Linked DNA regions of Homo sapiens: regions 1 and 3 are each linked to region 2. Evidence: promoter capture Hi-C in 16 types of primary human blood cells and fetal thymus (Javierre and others, 2016). All regions are on one chromosome and are shown on one strand. Each heading gives the region's core, a stretch centred on a gene start or on the middle of the fragment in contact. The rest is flanking DNA. Distances are from core to core; before and after follow the strand shown.

Evidence for each region. The method cuts DNA at HindIII sites, captures the fragments that hold promoters and counts their contacts. A CHiCAGO score of 5 or more calls a contact.
Region 1: a contact is called between a fragment that was not itself captured here and the fragment with the promoter of KIF20B in region 2, in 1 of 17 cell types (neutrophils). The highest score is 7.0, in neutrophils.
Region 3: a contact is called between a fragment that was not itself captured here and the fragment with the promoter of KIF20B in region 2, in 1 of 17 cell types (neutrophils). The highest score is 5.8, in neutrophils.

The regions. Positions count from the first base shown.
Region 1 is chr10:89,003,177-89,007,295 of GRCh38, reverse strand. It overlaps FAS (Fas cell surface death receptor), which reads right to left. Exons shown (of 9, transcript NM_000043.6): 2 at 4,102-4,119. Among named protein-coding and RNA genes, the nearest start is that of FAS-AS1, 12 kb to the right of the region's middle. The HindIII fragment of the contact is 4,885 bases long and covers 1-3,803 here.
Region 2 is chr10:89,699,361-89,703,138 of GRCh38, reverse strand. It overlaps KIF20B (kinesin family member 20B), which reads right to left and starts at 1,549. Exons shown (of 33, transcript NM_001284259.2): 1 at 1,459-1,549. RefSeq lists enhancers at 871-1,387, 1,388-1,903 and a silencer at 1,948-2,027. The HindIII fragment of the contact is 4,302 bases long and covers 1-2,046 here.
Region 3 is chr10:88,829,296-88,833,306 of GRCh38, reverse strand. ANKRD22 (ankyrin repeat domain 22) reads left to right here. Exons shown (of 6, transcript NM_144590.3): 2 at 1,281-1,472. Among named protein-coding and RNA genes, the nearest start is that of ANKRD22, 21 kb to the left of the region's middle. The HindIII fragment of the contact is 5,846 bases long and covers 1-4,011 here.

The DNA of each region.
Region 1 (4,119 bases), core at 112-2,611, 700 kb after region 2:
ATTGCTCTGACTTTTCATTTTACTTTCCAAAGTCCACAAATCCTGATAAGAAACAGTGTAATAAGGAAAAGAACATTTGAAGTTTTAAAAGCCTTGGTCAAATCTTGAGCAGCTATAAAATCTTTAACGAAGTGTTGTTTTCTCCAAGCCTAAATTTCATCCTGCATATGATGGAGATAGTAATATTTCTCTTGCATTGCTGTCAGAGCTGCACTCGGCCTGCCTAGTGAGCATGAGAGTTCTCTTTGTTCTCCCCTTTCTATTACTTTTTCATCAAAAGACAGGATATGTACTGATGAGTTTTGATAAGCATTAACATATTTATGCCAAAATTTATTATCTATCAGGCTTGTTATCTTAAAAACAAACAATTTTAAATAATATACATATTTGCATTAATTTACTTAAAAATAAAGTTTGTCACTGTATTGCTATTAGAAAGCATTATGTAATGTGTTCTCTTAAAAAATTCATTTATCTGATAGGTGTTTATTAAATGCCTATTGAGTCCTAGGAACTTTTTAGAAGTTTGATATTATGCAGGAAATAAGATAAACCCTTCATCACCAAAGACTTCACCTTCTTGGGATGCAGGCAGACAATACACAAATAAATATATTGATATCAAGTGCTAAAAAAATGCTATGGGGAAAGCTAGATGAAGGTAAGGGAATAGAGAATTAAGAAGAAAGTGACAGAAAATATCAAGGGAAGTGTGAGAAAAACATTACTAGTGACTCTAATTGTTAATGGTATAACTAGTTTTAAAAATATAAGCAGTTTAATCTGCTCTGCTCACCTATACAGCAAAATTAATTTCTGCTGTGTTTCCTAGGAACATGAATTCCTTAATAACTTCATATATTCTTTTTGATAAAACAAAATATTTACTACATGAGCAAATTATGACATGTAAATATATATGCTATTTTAGTAAGTAAAGATAATAGTCTGTCAATAGTAAAAAACAAACTGGAGATTCCCAGAACAAAATTCAAAAATAGTGCATAGGGCTATATAACATTGTAGCAATATTTAAAGAAAACAGAACCCAAGTCCAAGTATAATTTTATTTTTTGCTAGTGGTATTATACTGGTCTCTGAATGAATTGGTCTCTTTAATGAATTATCTTACAGAATGTGCCTAGCACAACTTCCTTGGTATAATGGAGATACAGTAAACCACAGGTTCTTTCGTTCCTCCAAAGTATGAAAACAAAATTTATTAAAATAAGAAAATAAGTAGTTGTTTTATTGAAAATCAGATTTTAAAATACTTTTTTTAGTATAATGGTACATATGCTTATTATAGAAATGTTGGAAAAGGCAGGAAAGTATAATAAGAACTTATGTATCAGGCCGGGCACAGTGGGTCATGTCTGTAATCCCAGCAGATTGGGAGGCCAAGGCAGGCAGATCACCTGAGGTCAGGAGTTTGAGACCAGACTGACCAACATGGTGAAACCCCGCCTCTATTAAAAACACAAAAAATTATCCCGGTGTTGTGGTGTGCTCCTGTAGTCCCAGCTACTTGGGAGGCTGAGGCTGCAGAATTGCTTGAACCCAGAAGGCAGAGGTTGCAGTGAGCTGAGATCATGCCACTGCACTTCAGCCTGGACTACAGAGTGAGACTCCATCTCAAAAAAACAGACAAACAAACAAACAAAAAACTATATATCAACAATCTGGAGATATTGCCGTTATTTTGTTGCATTCCTATGCATATAATACATACATACATGTATATGCATGAGCATATATATAACAGGTGTGTATATATATATATGTACAATGTGTATATATGAAATATGTGTGCAGTATACCATAGAATCCTTCTTATTGAATATGATGATGTGGGGAGGACTTCTTTGATCATTTAATCAAAAATGTCAATTTACATAGGAAATCACTTAAAAATACTGTAAATATTTTGTTTTAATTTATAAAATATAACTATATAATCATTTGACAATTTTGTGATATAGAAGTTATTATAATCCCAGGTTCTTTCTTAAGTCACATCCATAATGCATCACCTATAATTTCCTGTTTGTCTATTTTTCTCTTCCTTTTTCATTTCTTTCTTTTTTTCTCCTCCCTCCCTCCCTCCCTCCCTCCCTTCGTTTTTGATGAAAGGAAAACATAAACATACCAATAATCTCTATGAATGGCTTTAGAGATTTTTGTGATTTTTCCTACTACTTAACTTTTATTTTTCCCTCACAAAATTCATCAACAACATTTTAGCAGCTCATCTTTATTGAATTCTCCAAAGCACTCAACCTAGTTTTCTTAGAAATAAAATCTGTCTTTTCTCTGTATTTGTATTTCATTAATTTATGCAATATTCAATCAAATTACATATGAATATCACAACACTAATGAGCATAAACAGATTTGGAAGCAACTTAGATATTGATAAGCCTAAAATTCAACAAGAGGGAATTGAAGTGGGAAGAGTATTTAACATGGTTGGATGCCATCCAGGATATTTTATAGACGGATCAGGGAGAATCAGTTAATCCAGCCAGATCAGTTGGAAATTACTTAAGAAGGTTTATATAATTGAGGATTATATTAGAAATATATCAGAAAACATGACTTTGATACATACTATTTCAGTCTTTAAATATTCCAGAATTTACCTAAGGAATCCTACATCATATTGATAATGAAATATCATGTGTACAATATTTTCCTTTATTTTTGATTATTTTCTCAGGGTATTTTCGTATAAATTAATTGCTATCTTAGCAAGTATAAACAGTGGGTTGGGGGGAGGGGGGAGGGATAGCATTGGGAGATATACCTAATGCTAGATGACGAGTTAGTGGGTGCAGTGCACCAGCATGGCACATGTATACATATGTAACTAACCTGCAGATTGTGCATGTGTACCCTAAAACTTAAAGTATAATAATAAGAAAAAAAAGTTAAAAAAAATTTTTTTTCAAATTTTTGACTCATATATCCAAATGTATTTCTTAAAAGTTTGTAACAATTTACATTCACTTCTTAAATTAAAATAAAACAAAGCAAAACCGAAAAAGCAATAGACAAAAATCCTTGACAGTTTGATGTGCAAAGCATATTTTGTTCATTTTAATTTACATTTTAGGTTTTAAAATTATGAACAAAGATTTCAATTCATAGAGCAAATTGATTGTGTTTAGCAGGTTATAATAAAGCCAGGACGCCATTCTTTATTCGTGTTGGAGAAGATTTAAGTGTAAATGGGTTTAAGTATAAATGGGTTGGGTTATAGGGGAGATTTTTCCATAACGGTTATTAAAATCTGGACATGAAGCACAGGGAGACTGGTAGAATCTTTTCACAAACAGGACCCATCCTGTTTTACAGCTTGAGTGCTGGAAGCCTGGGAGGACAACCATGAAACATACTACAGTCCTTTTTTGTTCTATTAATCTATCACATGAACCCATGTGCTATTTTCCTTTTTTCAACTCTACTCAAAGTTGAAGAAATGTTTGCACAATTGCATTTTGCTTAGCTTCTAATTTACCAGTGTTTGAAGGATTTGTGATCTGAAATTAGTTTGCCCTTCAAAGTATTGATTTAAAAAAAAAAGCTGTTGGTTTCTGCCTGTTGCTTTTCTTATTCGTCTAGTTATTCAGCTGCAAAATGCAAATATATTTTGCAGGCTTCAGTGCCAGGACAGCTTTCTTAGAGACCTTCTGATTGAAGGGAAGTGCTGAGACATATCCCTTAAGAGGAGAAGTCTCTTGCTTTCAGAGTTCCACTATTGTTATGGTAGATCCTAATCAGTTTTGACATGATAAGCTTTCATATTCACAAATGAGTCATTTTTGCTTAGAAAAAAATGGAGCCAAATAGACCAGTCTTCTCATTTCAGAGGTGCATGTCACTTGTAAATTAAATTTATCCATAACCACATCAAATAAGCGTGATAAATATAAATAAAACTCATCTTTGGAAAATAATTTCATAGTTGTTTTTCTCTCAGTTATGTTATATAATATAGGGGAACCAAAAACTGTAAAATTATTATAGTCATGATTACTATGTGCTACTCCTAACTGTGACTTTCACTGTAATCTCTGGATGTTTTGTGTAACATACCTGGAGGACAGGGCTTAT
Region 2 (3,778 bases), core at 300-2,799:
ACCTGTGGCTTCAAATAATAATTTTTGGTTTAAAGAAAAGTGTTGATAAATCTTTTAAATTGCTGAATTAAAAAGAATATTCCTATGTACTAAAAGCAGTTATAATAAAGTATTTGTTCATATGCTCATTTTTCAATGAACAAACTACTTCCTAGCATTTCTAAAAGTGTTCAGACTTACTGTAACTTCTTGCGATTTTAGATGACTTCTACTTATACGTGGCCTTCCCAACTAAACTGGAAACTTCTTGATGGCAAGAACCTTGCCTTATACCACTCTGTATCCCCTATAACAAATTCAGCGACTTATGCAGGGATAAAGACTACCTAATGACTTAAAATAATGGTTATAAAGAAAATACTATTCCAAAAAAAAAAAAAAAAGTCGGTCCTAGTCTGTAATATTATCTTTCGTGACAGCAGGCTCCAAGACCTCATTTTTCATTTCAAAAGGCTGCTCTGACTGGAAAACTGCATATTTACCCTCTCTCCAATAAGAATCCACAATTGGAGACTTTGGTGAAAAATAGCAGAATCTGTTGCTGAATGAGGTTTCTGAATGTGGTCTACAACACAAAGCCTCAAAAAAAGTCTTCACAACTAATCGATGAGTATTTTATGTTATTTTTACAATTTAAAATCTGGAGTCTTGGACATGTAAGATAAATACACTGTTACACTACCTAACCCATAAGGCGTGAACTTCTGTAAACTAGTAGTTTAGCAAGAAATATAAGAGAACTGTGCCAGACATGCATCACTGAACCAGCGAGCGAATCGAGATGGAGAAAGCCTTCTAAACTGGGGAATGACAGCAGTCACTGTGCCACAAACTCTTCAGCCTGGCACTGCAAAACCCTAGAAGGGCAAGCCCCAAGGACCAGTAGGAGTAGTCTGGAAATAAGTGCACAGAGGCTACCACAGGGCTCCCCCCGCAAAAAGGCCGTGTTACCTACCAGCCGAGCAAACTGCTCACCTCAGAGCTTCAGAAAACTAGGTGTGGCAAAACAGGCCTGTTCCTCAACAACAACAGAAGCAACAACAATAATAATATTAATAACTGCAAACATTTAGTACCTACTGTGTGCCAGCACTAATAACTTTACACATTACCATTTAATCTTCACAAAAGCCGAAAGAAATAGACACTTCATTGCAGCCTTTTAACTGATAAGAAAACTAAGGTACAGAGAGAGATTAAATGAATTGTCTTGCGTCACTCAGCTAATTAGCAGTGGAGGCGAGATTTAAACCGTAACCGAATTAGTATGACTCATTCCTCGCTGCGTACCCCGTGTTCGCATCGCTCCGCAACCCAGTTCCTGACAGTAACCTCCACTGGGGTATGAGCCCTGTCGGAACATGTCCACATTGCCAAAGCCGTTTCCCCACCTTAGGCCCCATACATGCGCAGTCACCCACCTCCTTCCCCACACATTCCCGCGGGTCACCTCCTCACCTGCAAACTTCGCCTGACTAGCCAGACCCGCGAGCAGCACTGCGATGTTACCGTTTTCAAATTCAAACAATGGCGGCCAGGGCACCGCACTGAACGCTGGGAGTAGGTGGGGCGTCCAGAGCTCCGCCAGGGAGCGTAGCCGGCTCGCGCTGCGGGCTTTCCAGTGGCTACCGGAAGAAGCTCTCCAATATGGGGGCGGGTCTTGAAACGCGGGCAGCCAATGGGCGGAAGCAGGCGTGGGCCGCCCTGGTGCTGACGGTCTGGTTTGCCTCCCAGCTCTGCTAGCCGGGCTTTAGTAGTGCGCTTTCTCGCGGCTGTCATAAGTACCACGCTGTTGACTGGGACACCGATCTCCAATTCTGTCCTTGAGGCAATAAAGATGTGGCGAAGGCCCGAGGTGAGGCCACTGCCACTGCACTTAGTCCTGCGACTCCCCTAAGGACGGGCCGAGGAATGGCGGGCTAGCCACTTCCCAGTCCTGTCCCTACGGGGCAGAAAAAGGCTCGGCATCCCGGGATCCGGAGGGTCACTTCCCTCGCTGCATCCCCATTGTGCAACTGCCAGTCTAAAAATTGATATAGGTAAGCTTATGAATGCTAAAACTAATGAATGCAAGATGCTAAAACAAACAATTAACTGAAAGGTTGTAGGGAAGAGGATGTTAGTATCTCAAAGAATCACCCTACAGATCATTTCTTATTATAAAGGGAAAATAGAATTTTACACTGAAGAGATTTATTAGACATACCTTAACCAAGTGAAGATACTTAGCATCGCTAATATCACCCGATAGTATTTGTGCTAGAAATGTTTGACATTAATCATGAGGAAACAATCAGAAAAAAACAATGTAGAATATTCTACAAGACAACAGGCCTAGGCTCTTCAAAAATGTCAGTGTCATGACAGGAAAAAGAAAAAAACGAAGTGGAAAATTACTTTAGTCGAGAGTCAAAAGAAACCAAATGAAATTTGTGAATCTTGGCTGGTTCATAGTTTTTAAAAAAAAAAAAAAACTTCGAAAGACATTTGTGGACAACTGGGGAAATTTAAATATGAACTACATATTAGATGATATTGAATCAGTTTTAAATTGATTGCATGTGAGAATTAATTTGTGATTAAGTGGAAGAATGCCTTTGTTTTTGGAAGGCGCTTGCTAAAGTAATTAGCAGCAAAGTGTCACAGTGTTTGCGGCTTACCTTCAAAAGATATGGCAAAAAAATAGAGAAAGCAAATGTGGCAAAATATTAGTAATTGGTGAATCTAGTTGAAGGGTATAATGGTGTACATCGTACCAGTCTTGCAACTTTCTAAAATAACAGATTTTATAAAATAAAAAGAGGAGGGGGGAAAAGGAATAGAATTCTGATCTTTACCATGGCCTCCCAGGTCCTGCACAATCAAGTGTCAGCCGACCTCACTCCCCACTAACTGTACAGTAAGTTGATCTGCTCTGGATACCTCAAACACCAACTTCTTTCCAGCATGTATGAACCTTTGCATGGGTTGTTCCCTGTACCTAAATTCTCTCTTCTCCATTCAACACGTGGCACTTCCCTTCATCATTTAGGTTACGTCTAAAATAGTACCTTCTTAAAGAAGACTTTCCTGGCTACTGTATCTCAAGTGAGCACTCTTTTTTTATTTGCAGGTTCAATTTCATTTTTATACTTTTTACAACTAGCAATTGTTGTTGTTCCCCCACCCTGTAAAATCTAAGTTCTGTGAGTAGAATAACTGTGTTTTGTTTGGTCGCTAATGTATCCTCAATGACTCTCTAACACAAGACAAGCAAATCAATATTTGTTGAACAATGAATGAAAGCTGATGTGGCTGGGTAGAGACCATGGGGAGGAGTCAGGGGAGTGAATCTGTAGGCATGGGCCAAGGCCAGACCCTGTAAGCCTTAGCCAAGTTACTGACTTGAGTATTACGAAATGCTTACTGGATAACCAGTTTTAAGCATGGGCATGGTGCAATCCAATGTGCATCTATCTTTTGAAAAGGTTAATCTCCTGGAGAAACTAGAGGCAGCCAGGGAGGATGCTGTTGAACCAGTTAGGAGGCTGTTGCAAGAGATCCCAGGAAAAGATAATGATAATGTGGACTTGGAAGATGGCAGAGGAGTTGCAGAAAAGTATCCAGATTTTAAAGGTACTTTTTCCGACGTTTTTCATTTCAGCACCAGCTGCTGGGTTTTTCCCTTAGGGAGATGCAGAGCCAGCTTGATTGGGAAGTGCTTAAGATTTAGTACCCATTCCAAAGAATTCCATCTGTGCCCTTGAAATGAATATTAACATAAAATGAAAAATTTGGT
Region 3 (4,011 bases), core at 1,174-3,673, 870 kb after region 2:
AGCACCATCCATATGCCAGGTATTACTCTAAATGCTTTTTAAAAGACATCATCTGAAGATTAGTCTAAAAATATTCAGTGTTTGCCTCCCATGTGCTGAGTGCTGTGTTGAATGCTGGAGAAATAGCAGTAAATAAAATGGGGTTTACGGCCTGAACTTCAGTGCCTTCCTTCTCAGCACTGCCTCAAACCTCTCCTGATTCATGCTAGCCCTAAATACATGATTGTACATAATTAAGAAAAGAATTACAGTATGTCAGTTGCTGTGAGGGAGAGATACTGAATGTTGGGAGTAAGAAAAGACTTCTTGGATAAAATGAAAATTAAATTATGACATGAAGGGTGAGCTAGGTGTTATTCAGAAGAAAGGCAGGTGGTGTGTTTTATGCAGAGAGAGTATTCAGGGCAGAAGCCCAGATGGAAGGTACCAAACATGGTTTGGTTCAACCAAACTTTGAAGAACAGAAGTCGAGAAAGGCTGGAGCAGAGGAGGGAAAGAGGACAAGATCATGCTACCTGAAGTCTTGCTATTAAACTCCCATGGTGCCTTGTGAAGCTCTGTATAATGCTTTTTATAAACAGCATCTAATCAAGTGTAGTTAACCATATAATTTGTATATTATTTGCCTAAAAAACTGTCTTTTCTGCTCTGTTGAGCTCCTTGAATACAGGGTGCTATGTAGGTCTTATTTCATCACTAGTACTGCCCTAAACTCCTCCCCATATGCTTGTTTTCTATTTTATCTTTAGTAAAGATAAAGATAAAGACATTTTATCTTTAGTAAAGATAAAGATAAAGACATTTTGTCTTTACTAAAGATAAAGATATTTTATCTTTAGTAAAGATAAAGATAAAGGTATTTTGTCTTTAGTAAAGATAAAGATAAAGGTATTTTGTCTTTAGTAAAGATAAAGATAAAGGTATTTTATCTTTAGTAAAGAAAATGAATGCTTTTCCGACAGGCCCACCTACCTGTAAGCACTATACATAGTTTCCTTACTGAGTTGAATTTGTAGTATTTCATTTATTTATTCATCCATTTGATGGACATAAGTGTGTGCCAAGAAAACTTAGGAAAATGTAGGAGGTTCCTCATGGGCTAATTCTTGATCTAGACTTAAAGCTAGGCATAACTGAGACCAAAAAATCTCACCTGCAAAGCAATATATTACAATTTTAAAACATTTAAATTTTAATGTATTGGGTTATGACTTTTTTTTCGTTTTTGTGGTTTAATTATGCCAGTATTTCAAAACCTGCTTTTGTTTTTCCCGACCCAGCCCATCTGCCAAGCAGCCTATCAGAATGACTTTGGACAAGTGTGGCGGTGGGTGAAAGAAGACAGCAGCTATGCCAACGTTCAAGATGGCTTTAATGGAGACACGCCCCTGATCTGTGCTTGCAGGCGAGGGCATGTGAGAATCGTTTCCTTCCTTTTAAGAAGAAATGCTAATGTCAACCTCAAAAACCAGGTGAGGTCATGACATGAATGGAGAGTGTAATTGTTCATGATAATTCTTTTCTCTTTGAATCACTAGAAGTGGTGCATGTCATTTTTTAAATTGCTTGCAGCTCCTAATACGAACAATTATCTTAGCCTACTTTAGAAAGACTGACACATACCAAGGACATTTTATTAGGCTAAACAGCAAAATAAAACATAGTTCAATCAGCAGGCATAATTTGTGATAAATTATGTCTTTTTACCTCTGGTTCACTTATTTGGCTGGATAGAGCTTCTTTCTTTTCCTTCTTCCTCTCTTCATCCTCCTCTTTCTTCCTCTCCCCTCTTTCTCATTACTAACACAGAAGCAATGGCAAAGATTTCTTGGAAAAGAAATGCTGTTTCATTAGTTAGATTTTTACCTGCTATATTAATGTCCTGATCTCCAGAGGATCCTATAGTGTTCTTGTAGAATGAAAGAGTACTATTGAGAAATTTACCAAGGACAAATAAGCTCATGAGCCAGAGGTTACTTGAAGTCACACAAAAAGGTGTAAAGAATATATTTAAAGATGCAATATTAGCTACTTTGGAGCCTTCAGGACCAAGAAAGAGAAGAATATGTGTGTATTGCTGTGAAAATCCTTGTGGAGCCCTTTCTGAACATCTAGCATTTGCATCGTAGTGAAGGCAATATTTAAATTACACTGAATAAATATTAAGCCATTTTTTTGCAATCATTATGACTGTCCTGTACCCACTTATATGCATTCAAGGCGAGAAAACACTGGAAATCCCCCCTTGCCCCTTCTAAGTCATTTGGAGACTAGCTCATCAGGAGTAACAATGTATTATCAGAAAATTGATCATTACTGGACTTTTTTATTTATGCTTACTATTTTTGGTTTGGTTGCGATTAAAAGCAAGTCATGCCTGTGCTGAATGGAACAGATATGCAACATCGTGGACTATAATAGGATCTCTGTAGATCACTGCTGTGAAACCAGATATGTGGAGTTGCAGTGAGTGGTAGTGCCAGAAGACAGATGTCTGTGGGTTCCTGCGCTCTTTTAAGAGGTGCGCTCGTTAGGAAACTGAGGGAGGAGACGTTAGCCCATGGGCAAGGCTGAGGAGACACTTTTATCTCCGCTTTGCAGAAGAGGAGGGCCTCAGCCAGCCTGCTGGGATTTTCTGGTATCATAAAAACCATGAAAAAGACTTTAGTGGATACATTAGATTAATAGATTTTATCAGTAGAAGTTTTTGGTTTGCATTTTCCACTTTCAAATGTTTCTAATGTTAGCATTTAATATTTTTATTTTCTCCAAATATTAATATTTGTACATTAATAATTTGAACCTGTGATTTCTCATGTCTGAAATCTGTTTATAAATTATTTCCAGAAACACTAAACAAACAAACACCTTAAAAACAAACAAACAAACAAAAAGCTCTGCTGGAGATTCAGAAGCACAAGCCTATGGATTCTATTGATAGCAAATTAAATTAAAACATAAAGATCCTTGTTTTTGTCTGTCAAACTGACCAAGATTAAAAAAGAAAACAAATGTTGATCAGAAAGTTTAAGTTATTATTGTCTTATTAGAACACAATTTGATAGCGCAATATGAAAAGCATTAATACTTTTTATGCCAGGAATTCTATTTTTAGAAATGTAGGCAAAGGACAAATTTGGAAATGTTGACAAAAATTTATGAATGAGCAGGTTCAGGCAATATTATTTATAAAAATGAAAAGTTTAAAACTTGAAACGGGCCATGTGCAGTGGCTCATGTCTGGAATCCCAGCATTTTGGGAGGCCAAGGTGGAAGGATAGTTTGAGACCAGGAGTTCAAGACCTGCCTAGGCAACATAGCAAGACCCCCGCATCTCTACACAAAATAATAATAAGTAAAAAATTATCCAGGTGTGGTGGCACATGTTTGTAGTCCCAGCTACTTTGGAGGCTGAAGTTGAAGGATCGCTTGAGACCAGGAAGTCAAGGCTGCAGTGAGCTAGGATTGTGCCACTGCACTCCCGCCTAGGTGGCAAAGCAAGATCCTGTCTCACAGAAAAACAAAAACAAAAACAAAACCCTCAAAAACCATGAAATGTTCAAAAGGCAGGGCTTAGCTAAATACATCAGAGTAGTTCCACTCAATACTAAGCCATGCAGCCATTACAATCATATGTTTAAAAATATTGAATTGCATGGAAAAATGTACATATTCTAAATATACGTTTCTGAACTGAAAAAAGCAAGATATGATATTGCATATGCAATATCATTCTACATTTCAAAATTCCACATTTATGCATTTAAGAAGACTGGAAGAAAATACAACAAAATGTCAACAGTTAACTCTGGACCATTTAATATAATAATGGGCAATTTAAAATTCTATCGTTATGTTCCTCTCTAGTTTCTAAAATTTTTTTACAGAAAATATAAATGCCTTCATATTAGAAAAACAAAAAGTGTTCTTATTTAGGTACAGTGCCTTGCATAAGTGGAAACTAACCTCCTTTCTTTCTCTTGGGCTCCCTCTCCTCTTACTGATTTGATT